Regions from separate parts of the Homo sapiens genome. Here region 1 is linked to region 2. The links are contacts of gene promoters, found by promoter capture Hi-C in human tissues and cell types (Jung and others, 2019). All regions are on one chromosome and are shown on one strand. Each heading gives the region's core, a stretch centred on a gene start or on the middle of the fragment in contact. The rest is flanking DNA. Distances are from core to core; before and after follow the strand shown.

What was found. Contacts are between HindIII fragments. The study calls those that stand out against the background at their distance.
Region 1: a contact is called between a fragment that was not itself captured here and the fragment with the promoter of PDCD5 in region 2, in 1 of the 25 tissues and cell types used here (dorsolateral prefrontal cortex).

The regions. Positions count from the first base shown.
Region 1 is chr19:30,705,709-30,711,876 of GRCh38, forward strand. It overlaps a transcript of ZNF536 not described here. Among named protein-coding and RNA genes, the nearest start is that of ZNF536-AS1, 39 kb to the left of the region's middle. The HindIII fragment of the contact is 5,215 bases long and covers 1-4,156 here.
Region 2 is chr19:32,577,353-32,583,492 of GRCh38, forward strand. It overlaps PDCD5 (programmed cell death 5), which reads left to right and starts at 3,838. Exons shown (of 6, transcript NM_004708.4): 1 at 3,838-3,975; 2 at 4,843-4,880. The coding sequence starts at 3,910. RefSeq lists an enhancer at 3,288-3,377 and silencers at 3,588-4,317, 3,663-3,839. The HindIII fragment of the contact is 5,718 bases long and covers 1-5,172 here.

The sequences.
Region 1 (6,168 bases), core at 299-2,798, 1.9 Mb before region 2:
AGATACACTGCAAGATCAGGATTTATTATGATTCTAGCATTGTATAGACTTCTTTCTACAAATGGATATGTGCATAGCTTTAGATGGATTTACATATAGATTTCCATCTCACCTAAGTGAAAATGAAACCAATTCAATACTAATGTTTTGACCAGTGAAGTATCCAAATCTGCCAGAATTATTATTATACATTTGGCTATTACCAAGAAACAGAGATTCAAAATATAACCATAGGATAAAATCATGATTAATATTTTAAAATCGATTGGTGGAAAAAAGGTACTAAGTGCTTTTATACCAAGTTGGCCAAATCAAAAAGGCTTTCATTGCAAATAAAGGTGATATCTGAGGTCCACATTTTAGTTTGCCAAGAGGCACGTTGCATCACTCCTGTGGCAGTATCATTTGTAGGGAGGGTGGCTTCCATGTAGCATAGGATTCATACGTGAAATTATTACTCAGTAATGTGACAATCGAAAGTACAATAGACAGTTGGCTGGGCGCGGTGGCTCACGCCTGTAATCCCAGCACTTTGGGATGCTGAGGCGGGTGGATCACGAGGTCAGGAGATTGAGACCATCCTGGCTAACACGGTGAAACCCCGTCTCTACTAAAAAAAATACAAAAAGTTAGCCGGTCGTGGTGGCGGGTGCGTGTAGTCCCAGCTACTCAGGAGGCTGAGGCAGGAGAAAGGTGTGAACCCGGGAGGCAGAGCTTGTAGTGAGCCGAGATCACACCACTGCACTGCAGCCTGTGCAATGAGTGAAACTCTGTCTCAAAAAAAAAAAAAAAGAAAGAAAATACAATAGACAGTTTTGCTGATGAACAAAAACAACTGAAGAATGGAAGAACTAGTGTCATCCTGGTAAACCGAGGCAGATTTATAAACAATAGTGAGGTTTGGTCGCTTTGTTTCATAGTGCTGCTGGCCTATTTGGATCATGGTACCAAGGGTTTTGGTTTTATTTTTTATTTTTACTTACTATTTGGAGTTCTTTACTCGAAAGACTTGTCATACGATAGTGACATTCTCCATCAATAAATTATTGCCATATAATGAATAAATGAATGACTTAGCCCTAGCTTTATCTGAGCCATGGTAATTAGGACAGTGGCCAGCCTTTGTCCATGAACTGCTACAGAGCTGCCCTTGGTAGAAACATAGAAAATACAGTCCATTTCAGAGAAGCTTTGGCCAAAGCCTCGAAACATTTCTCAGGTTTCCCGGTGTCTTGCTCCTTCTTTATGTTGTTTGGGATGACCTTCAATTGGCTTGTAGGCCTCCAGCTACAAATTGGGCCCGCCTTTTTCTTGCTTAATAGTGTCCATTTCAGAGTAGCTCGAACTCTCTCTCAGTGAGTCCTGGGCATAGCTTCGGGCCCACAGGGATGATAACTTAAAAAATTGGATGGCTGAATCTTGGGGGCTCTGTGTTGTCTCTAAGATGCTTGGCCAGGACGATCTACTTGGAACTCACTCATGCCCAGCTTAGTCCTGACTTAGATTCACCATTAAGGTACGGAGAATGGGTGTGGCTTTGCCCATCCCATTGCCTCTGATTGGCATCCTAATTCCATCCTTCAGTCTATGCCCTAACTCCCAGGTCATGAAGAACAGGGACCATTTGCATTTTTTTGTATAATCGAAAATTTGCATTGGAAATATGTCCCAGTTGTCCTTCGCCTCCCAACCCAGGGCCTTCCCTAGGTGACCAAGCCCTTAAGGTGAAAAGGGTGGCAAGACAGCAAATGGGCAGTCACCCTGGGGACTCCTTCTCTTACCTGGCAATCATGGCACTGGCCCCTCGTGCTAGCTGTGCTCTTCCTCCTGTGGTTGGCTGTCAGGAAGGGCCAACAGCAAGTGCACTGTTCTTGTACTTTATTTTGTTCTTAACTCCGAAGTCTGTAGATTTGCACATTGTCTTCTTGAAGTGGGAAGGTTGATGAAATTTAGCCTTGTCTTAGGGACAACAGTAGAAACAGAAGAAGCAGAAGCACTATCCAAAAATGTGTAATTCCTGGCAGGGCATGGTGGCTCACGTCTGTAATCCCAGCACTTTGGGAGGCCAAAGTGGGTGGATCACCTGAGGTCAGGAGTTTGAGACCAGCCTGGCCAACATGGAGAAACCCCATCTCTACTAAAAATACAAAAATTAGCTGGGCATGGTGGCTTATGCCTGTAATTCCAGCTACTCGGGGAGTCTAAGGCGGGAGAATCACTTGAACCCAGGAGGCAGAGGTTGCAGTAAGCTGAGATCATGCCACTGCATTGCAGCCTGGGTAACAGAGTGAGACTCCATCAAAAAAAAAAAAAAAAGAAAATCCAAAAATGTATAATTCCTTAGAAAAAGGCAAGGTGATACAAGAATATAATTAATAATTCCTGACTACCTGCTTTGTGCCAGGCACTGGGCTTGGCATTCATAACACTGAGATGGTCATGGTTCTTGCCCCAGGAATTCACGGCCTTTTTGGGAGGACCAGTACATACACTCAGGCCCACAAAGCAGGCATCCTGCTGATCAAAGCCTGAATAGAGAAGTGGGTTTGAGCCTGCAGAGAATGAAGTGGCATTTCAGAGAGAGGGTAGACAAGCAAGGGTATGGAGACACTGCACAGTGACGTCTATGTGCAGAGACCATCTGAGGTTTGGTTTGGTGTGGGCAAAAGGGGTTGTGCTGTAGCGTGGAATGGAAGGGTGTTTTAGGATTGAGCCATGAAAGTCCTGATTATTCCTTTGGAGGCCAGTGGCCATGAAAGATCTGGGGCAAATAAATCACAGGCTGAGCTTCTGCTTTAGGCACTCGCTCTGTTGTCCCTGGGGAGGACAGGCTGGCGGTGGGAAACTGGAAGCATGAAGGCCACCCGCGGGCTGCCATGTTCATAGTCTAGACAATAATTGGTACACACTGGACCTGGTTCTGAAGTCAGCATTGCAAAGGAAAAGATTCAACAGGTAGAATGGATTAGTCCTGGACACCAGTTGGTTATGAGGGAACAAAGAGGCAGTGAACTCCAGAAGCCCAACAAGAAGCAAGAATTTAGCACTGGGTGCAATTCAGTGGGAAAGTGAGCTTCTGCTTCCAACGTTGCATTGGATTCCTGTTTCTCAGGAACAAGACTGTTTTGCTAAATAGACGCAGGACTGCTATTACTGCTTTAGAAAAAGTGCTGAATATGTGTTTGCTTGTTCTCTGGAGCCAGTGATGGGGCTCTCCATTTATTTACTTGTTTATTTTTTTGAGCAAATGAAACCCAGCTCTGGGCCCTGACCTCTCTGAGTGCTGGGTGAAACAGCACATGAGAGCTTCCAGGAACGGCTCATCAACAGCTTCCCGGAAGCAGGGGAGATGCCATTGCTTCAGAATAACTTCCCCAGCCAGATGTTTTACCAGTTCCTCGAGATGGTAGAGTCTGTGCATGGCTGTGACGCATCAGGGTAGAGATGTTGCGCTTGGAGGATTAGGTGAACGTCCACAGGAATCCACCTCCTGTTCCAAATTACAGTCTTTCTAGGAAGGTTTCATTTCAAGAGTCACTATTCAAAATCTACCTTCTTTAAAACTCATGCTGGCCTTGATTACCTGTTCATCTTTCTCCTGGTCCCGACAACTTTCGCTGCTGCCCCTGAGACCCTCAGACTCTAGAAATCCCCCCAGCTCAGCCCTTCCAACTCTGCCTAAGAGCAAGACTCAGGTGACACCCCTCACTCACCCCACCCCCAAACACACGCTCCCTTGCCATTCTTGGTTTGCTCAACAATAAAGAGTCAACGGGAGGATCAGAACATGAGCTGGCTTTGCCCTGAGGCCTGAGTCAGACTCCCAGATGGAAGGATTTATGGTCTTTGTGCAGAATTGGGGTCAGCAAAGTGTAGCTCGTGGACAAAATCTAACTATTGCCTGGTTTTTTGTTTGTTTGTTTGTTCTTTGTGTTTGTGAAAGGGTCTTGCTTGTTGTCCAGGCTGTAGTGCACTGGTACCATCATAGCTCACTGCAGCCTCAAACACCTGGCTCAAGTGATCCTCCTGCCTAAGCCTCCTGAGTAGCTGGGACCACAGGCATGTCCCTGGCTAATTTTTAAATTTTTTTTGTACAGACAGTCTCACCATGTTGCCCAGGCTGATCTCAAACTCCTGGGCTCAAACGACTGACTTGCCTCAGCCTCCCAAAGTGTTGGGATTCCAGGCGTGAGCCACTGTGTCCAGCAATTGTTTGTTTTTATACAGCCTGTGAGCTAGGAATGGTTTTTCCATTTTTTTAATGTTTAGGAAAAAAACTCAAATGAGAATAATAGTAGTTCATCCCACATGAAATTTATATAAAATTTAAATTTCAGTGTCCATAAATAAAGTTTTGAATTTCATCAATAAAAAGTTGAGGAATATTTGTTTCCTGTCTTGTTCTCTAAATACCTACACAGTATCTTGGATTTTGCCTCTTTGCCTGCAAATCTGGGACTATTTATTATTTAACCCTTTATAGAAAAAAATTCAGATATGGGGAGACTTATCTTCAATTACCTAGAAAGTCTGGGTTCAAAACTCTAGCTAGAGCCTGGTGTGGTGGCTTGCACCTGTAATCTCAGCTACTTAAGAGGTTGAAAAGAGAGGGTCCCTTGAGGCAGGAGCTCGAGACCAGCCTAGGCAACATAGCGAGATCCTGTCTCTAAAACAAACAAACAAAATTGCTGGGCATTGTGGTGTACCTGTAGTCCCAGCTACTCTGGAGGCTAAGGCGGGAGGATGGCTTGAGCCCAGGAGTTTGAGGCTGCAGTGAGATATAATCGCACCACTGCACTCCCAGCCTGAGATGAGGAACGGGACTTGATCTCTAAAAACAACAACAAAAATATTCAGGGATGGGAAGATCTTCTAAATCTTAGCTTATGTGCCTGATGTATCGGCTGCTTTTCTCACTCTCACTATTTGATTTTTGCAAAGTAATAATAATATTGATCATACTGGTGATTGCAATTATGATCCTTTGAGCCCTGGGGGCCAGGAAGGTGTGAGCAACAGTGCTGACCGGCCACTCTTTCTGCCCACAGGTCACAGGCCTTTCCAGTGCCGCTACTGTCCCTACAGTGCCTCTCAGAAGGGGAACCTGAAGACCCATGTCCTCTGCGTCCATCGCATGCCTTTTGACAACAGCCAGTATCCCGACCGCAGGTTCAAGCGCTCCAGGGTCGACTCAGAGGCTTCTGGGAATTTCGAGGAGCCTACAGCTGTCAAGGCGGGGAGCTCTGCAGACCTCACGGAAGAGGGCGGCAAGGGCCAGGAGGAGACCAACTGAGCAGACCAACCTGTATATTGCAATAGTATTTTACACAGTTTTAACATTATGCATCTGGTAAAAGTTTGCTAACTGCATTCCAAGGGGAAAAAATCATGTACAACCCCCCAATAGTGTATAGAACATTTAAAAAATTTTAAAAGATATCTATATATATATTAAAAAAAAAAAATTCCCCAGCCCTTGAAAATGGCTGCTAAACTGTTACCCGGCAACAAGTACTTCCAAAACAATGCAGGTGGGAGAAAAGTGATTTCAAAAATTCTTGGTGCCCTCTGAGCTGGAGAGAGCTGGGGGCCCTTCCAACTCGAAAGTCGTCTTTGTCCAAAAATAATGCTCTTAACTGAAAAACGATACCATCTAAACGATTTAGTGTTGCGTTGAAGATGGAGGGGCTGTGTTTTCGTTGTTGAAAACACCTCTATAATCTGACACCAGCTGCTGTAATTCGCCTAGAACCCTAATGAGATGTGTCGGGAGGCAGCTGCGGTGCCAGTCAGACTGGAGCGGTCACTGCAGAGAAAATCAATTCACGTGGTGTTGTAACTGCACTCTTGGAGAAACCTTAGACGGCCCGCAGCCAGCGCCGGGGCTGACCGGCACTGCAGAGGATTGAGATCTTAAATGCGCATTTTTACAAAATACACAGCCAAATGAAATCAATGATCAGGAAGTGTCTGCAGACAAATGTCCATTGCAGGTTTGATGAGTAATTCCTTTTTTTAGATCAAATTGTTCTCGGTAGCCTTTTCTTCTTTTTTAAAAAAAAATTTTGGATGAAGAAGGAAGTTGCTATTAAAAAAAAGTAGGGTACATTATATAAAATGTTGTTAGAAAAACTAGCTAACCCCATCCATAGAAGATGCTGGTGAGCA
Region 2 (6,140 bases), core at 2,588-5,087:
GAAAGAGAAAAAAAAAAAACACCACTCACGAAGGAATAGGAATCAGATTTTTGTATCACGAACACCAAATGCTAGAAGACAGATGAGATGTACCTTTATACTCCAAAGGGAGTGGACACTAAACACAACTGGATCACGAACTGACAAGAAAACAAACAGTGGTGGTGAAGGTTATTTGAATAACTGGAGAGACAAATGTGGGCTACATCAAGTAGATGATACTATTTTATCTATATTAATGTATTGGGTACAATAATTATATTATATATGAGTATATCTTTGTTCTTAGGATATACACTTAGGAGTGAACTGACATATTTGAAACCTTCAAATGGTTCAAAAAAACTGTGTGTGTGTGTGTGCATATGCACACACGTATGTATGTGTGTGTAGACATATAAAGTCAATGTGGCAAACTTAATGATTAATGAATGTATGGGAAAGATATATACACGTTCTTTGTACTATTCCTCCAATTTTTATAGATTTGATGGTTTTCACAATGTAAAGTAAGGAATTTTACAAATTACTAATATATAACAAAGTTAGAAGGGTAAATTAAAAATAACATTTTGTATTATATTTTAATTTAAAGTAATTCTGAGGGGAAAATATTTTATCCAAAAGTCTATAACCAACCATGAATTAGTCAAGTGTTATGGTCAATTAAATATTTAGACATATGACAATATAGAAAATTTGTCTATCACAGACTTTTTAAAGACAATTACTTAAAAATGTGTTTCAACAAACTTAAGGGTTAAACCAAGAAAGAGCATAAGGAATCCAAGAAATAGAGGATGAAACTCAAGATGGCAAGGAAGGAAAATCTAGGATAAGAGGTATGCAACAGTCCCCACCATTCAGTGGGGAAAGGACAGTCTTTTCAACAAATGGTGCTGGGAAAACTGGATAGCCACATGCAAAAACATGAAGTGGGACCCTTACCTAATGCCATATTAACTCAAAATGGACCACAGACCTGAACATAATGAGCTAAAACTATAGAACTTCTAGAAGGAAACAGGAGAATAGCTTCATAACGTTAGATTTGGCAGTTATTTCTTGGGTATGACACCAAAAGCAAAGGCAACAAAAGAAAAAATAGGTAAGTTGGACTTTATGAAAATTAAAATATTTTGTGCATTGAAGGACACAATCAACAGAATGTAAATCCCATGGAATGGGAGAAAATAGTTGCAAATCATATACTTTGATAAGGGATTATCTAAAATATGTAAAGAACTACTACAACGCAACAACAAAAAAAGAAAAGCAAATTTTAAAATGGGCAAAGGGCTAGAAGAGACATTTTTCTTTTCTTTTCTTTTCTTTTCTTTTTTTTCTTGAGACAGAGTCTCGCTCTGTCACCAGGCTGGAGTCCAGTGGCGCGATCTTGGCTCACTGCAACTTCCGGCTCCCGGGTTCAAGTGATTCTCCTGCCTCAGCCTCCTGAGTAGCTGGGACTACAGGTGCGTGCCACCACGCCCAGCTAATTTTTGTATTTTTAGTAGAGACAGGGTTTCGCCATGTTGGCCAGGATAGTCTCAATCTCTTGACCTAGTGATCTGCCCTCCTCAGCCTCCCAAAGTGCTGGGATTACAGGAGTAAGCCATCGCACCTGGCCTAGAGTAGACATTTCTCTAAAGAAGATATACAAATGGCCAACAAGCACATGAAAAGATGCTCAACATCACTAATCGTTAGAGAAATGCATATCAAAACCACAACACCTCACCTCATACCCGTTAGGATGGTTACTATCAAAAACAATCAAAAAACAAACAAACAAAAAAACAGAACACAACAAATATTGGTGAGGAGACGGTGAAATTGGAACCTTCATTCACTGTTGGTTGGAATGTAAAATAGTGCAGTTGCTGTGGAAAATGGTATGGCCATTCCTCAACACAGAATTATCACATTATCCAACAATTTCTCTTCTGGGTATATATCCAAAAGTGAAAGCACAGACCTGAACAGATATTTCTACACCCATGTTCATAGCTGCATTATTAATAATAGCCAAAAGGTGGATGCAACCTAAGTGTCCATTGTCAGATGAATGGATAAACAAAATGTGCTAGGTATATCCATACAATGGAATATATTCAGTCTAAAGAGGGAAAGAAATTCTGCCACATGCTACAACATGAATGAACCTTTAAGACATATGCTAGGTGGAGTAAGCCAGTCACAAAAGGACAAATATTGTATGATTCCACATATACAAGATACCCAGAATAGGCAAATTCATAGAAACTAGAATGAGAATGGGTGGAGACTGATTATTATTCTCAGACCCCTCCCACCCCCACCCATTCCCATTAGAGGCCCCTCACACCAACCTAAATCTTTACTGGGTAGAGTTCCAGTTCAGGATGATAAAAAAAAAAAGTTGTAGAGATTGATGGTGGACAAGGTGGTTCATGCCTGTAATCCCAGCACTTTGGGAGACCAAGGCAGGTGGATCACTTTAGGTCAGAAGTTCGAGACCAGCTTGACCAACATGGTGAAACCCCATCTCTACTAAAAAATACAAAATTAGCCGGGCACAGTGGTGCACGCCTGTGGTCCCAGCTACTTGGGAGACTGATGCAGGAGAATCGCTTGAACCCGGGAGGTGGAGGTTGCAGTGAGCTGAGATTGAGTGACAACTGCACGATAATGCATTTCATACCACTGAAAAGTACACCTAAAAATGGTGAAAATGGTAAATTTTGTATTGTGTATATTTTGCCACAATTAAAACACACAGGCCAGGTGTGGTGGCTCATGCCTGTAATGTTAGCAGTTTGGGAGGCTGAGGCAAAAGGATTGCTTGAGCTCAGGAGATAGAGGCCAGCCTAGGCAACATAGCGAGACCCCATCTGTATTTTTTTAATGTAAAAAATAAAATAACACACACACAGACAAACAAACAGAATCTGTATGAGTCACACGTTTAGGTAGCTGAATATCCTCTCTGCCCCCAATTCCCCCAAGTCAAAGGCAGAAGGGATTTGTTCCACCAAAGAGTTTACACCAGCCACAGCTGCCCACTGCAGTATCCTCCCAGGAAAAGCCCTTTTGTGCGTGGAGGAGGCAGATGGCGAGGAGGCAGATGTGCACTTTTTTTTTTTTTTTTTTTTTTTTTAGAGACAGGGTCTGGCTGTGTCTCCCAGGCTGGAGTGCAGTGGCGAGATCAAGGCTCACTGCAGCCTCGAACTTCCGGGCTCCAGCGATCCTCCTGACACAGCCTCCTGAGTAGCTGGGACTACAGGTGCACATCACCGCGCCCAACTAGTTTTTTAAAATTTTAGTAGAGATAGGCTCTTGCCATATTGCCCAGGCTGGTCTCTAACTCCTGACCTCAAATGACCCTACCGCCTCCCGAAGCGTCGGGACCACAGGCGGCGAGCCACCGGCCGGCCTCTGTGTGCACCGAGGAGCCGGGCAGCCACCGCCACGATCCAGCTTTAGGACATTTCCATCACCCCACTCAGCCTTCCTGCGCCCCTGGTTCCTCATCTATAAATAGAGATAATATACGCCTAACCCTCTAGGTCACCAGCACATTGCACCCATAATTATTATACTTGTTGATGCCACACTTTCAGGTTTTAACCTTTCCAAAGCGCAGCCCCGCCCCAGCGCAGCCCAAGTCCCTGCACGCAGAGGCGCCGATCACGGGTGGGAGGTGGATCCCGGAGGCCCCGCCCCAGGCCCCGCCCCTCCGTGCGCCCAAGCTCGACCGCCTGAAATCGGGGAATCGGGCCTCTGCCGGCGCCCTGGCAGCGGCGCGGGGCGTGGCTCCGGGCTGGATTGGTGGCGCCTGGGCCCCGCGAGCGCCTGCGCAGTGGTCAAGGCCGCGCTCGCGCCGAGGGGCTGCGAGAGTGACCGCGGCTGCTCCAGCGCTGACGCCGAGCCATGGCGGACGAGGAGCTTGAGGCGCTGAGGAGACAGAGGCTGGCCGAGCTGCAGGCCAAACACGGGGTGAGCGCATCAGCCCCCGCCAGGCTTGGCCCTCGCGGGGCGCCGCCCTCGCCCGGAGTGTAGGGCGCGCCTCCGGGGCGGAGGCTCTGGGCGCCTCCCCGGGGCCCCGGTCCCCTGCGCTGCCCTGGCGGCCTCGTGGCCGGCTCAGAGGTGGCCTCGTCGCTTTCCTCGTCGCGAGGGGCCCAGGAGGCTGGCGGCGGGGGCCGCCACGTGCGGGACCTGCCCTGGCGTTGGGGTGTGGGGTCCCCTAGCCTGGAGCGGGCTCGTCCTGGCGGGCCTGGATCCAAGCACAATCTCAGCTTTTGGAGCCAGCAGCCGGACCGAATTCAGTTTTTCCGGAGTTCAGTTGTTATGACCCAAGTTTAGCCGACAGGTATTGAGGGTCCGCTGTGTTCCCGGTGCTGAGAGCGCGGCAGGGTCGGAGGAACGCTTGCCCCGCCGGGATGACAGGGAGGGGCCGCCTGGGAAGCTTGGATGGATCACACGCCCGGAGAGGCGTTTCTGATAAGGGACCGGGACCTTAGGGACGGAGGGCGCAGTCTTTGAGTTATCGTTGTCCCTAATACCGAGGCCCGTTTTATTTTCCAGAAATTATTCCTACATGTGAAACACGGTTTCGTAATACAGGGATTCCCCTCCCCAGGGTGCTCTGTATTCCAAAGCCTTCTGAGGTTGTGGTTTTAGACGTTCATCAAAACGTTGTAAGTGGGAACTAGTTCATTGATTTCTGTGAGGCCCAGTTTCTTATTTGGGGAGTTGTTTCTACCACCGCAAGAGACTGTTATGTATAGGAAACAACAGAACCGTTCCTTTTTCCCGCCGCCTCCCGTGAAATTTCTCTATTAAATTTAAGTTTTTTTTTTCCAGGATCCTGGTGATGCGGCCCAACAGGAAGCAAAGCACAGGTATGGGCTGGAAACGTGAACTTTTTGAAGGGTGGTTTCACCAAATGGATTTCTTTTGCTGTAGTTATTTTAAGCAGGTGTGTGACTCAGATTTTTTTGTTTTGCTGGAATGGTGATTTGGCCAAAATCATCCGCAGGGTATCTTCATTATTGTTAAATAAACACGTGTGCAGCTCCACATCAGACCTTGTATTGCAATTACTGGTTGATGTTTCTCTGCTACAATGTGAGTACCTTAAAAATGAGCCTGATAATAGGCAGCTGTGGCAGTTTCCTCGGCTGTGGGGGTGACGTGAGTCCGGTGCCTCACTTAGTAAGTGCTCAATAAGTGTTAACTGGTAAGCTATTCTGATTGTTTTATCCCAACACAGCGCACAGCACCTGAGACAGATGCAGGTAATTGATTCGGTGGCAGGTTTATTGAATGAGTATGTGATTACCCTATCATGCTATCATTTTTTAAAAATTGTGGTTAAATAAAATTTCACCATCACAACCATTTTTAAGTGTGCTCTTCAGTAGTGTTCACACTCTAGAATGTTTTCATCTTGCAAGACTGAAACCTTTAGCTACTGGACAATTCTCTATTTCCCCTTCCTCACCTTCTTACTCCTCCTCTCCAGCAAATATTTATAGAGCACCTGCTCTGGGTCAGGCACTGTGCTGGGTCTACAGAAATAGGAAGGGAGGGTTCGGGAGAAGACAGACGGTGAGAAGTATCTGGAGTAGTGATAGGAAGTAAAACGACGCAAATTTCATTGATTTCTGCCGTGTACATCTTTTCATTGTCACATATCTGAAATCAGGATGCCTTTTAAAACAGATTGCTCTTGCCCCAGATTCTTCCAGAGGGGATTTACTTTTGACTCTGCTATCACTTGAGTACATTTCTGAGACCATTGAAAGTTAAATTCTCTGCTTGAGGTTTTCCCCTGCCTCCTGCCTAGTAGTGTGAATTCAGACAGCAACCCTGTAAGACTGAACTTTTTTCTTCTTTACGTCAGGGCCAGGTGCATGCAAGCTTTTGTACTGCCCCTTACTGCATGGCATATTTATTTATTCTTTACTTTGTACTGAGAATGTTGCTCTTTGATACCCCAGTGGTGGGATCAGAACTCACTGCAGCCTCAAACTCCTGCTGGGCTCAAGTGATCCTCCCACCTCAGCCTCCTGAGGAGCTGAGATGACAGGCGTGCACCACCATGCCTGGCTAATTTTTTTAAACTTTTTTTTTTTTTAATAGCCTCGCTATATCACCCA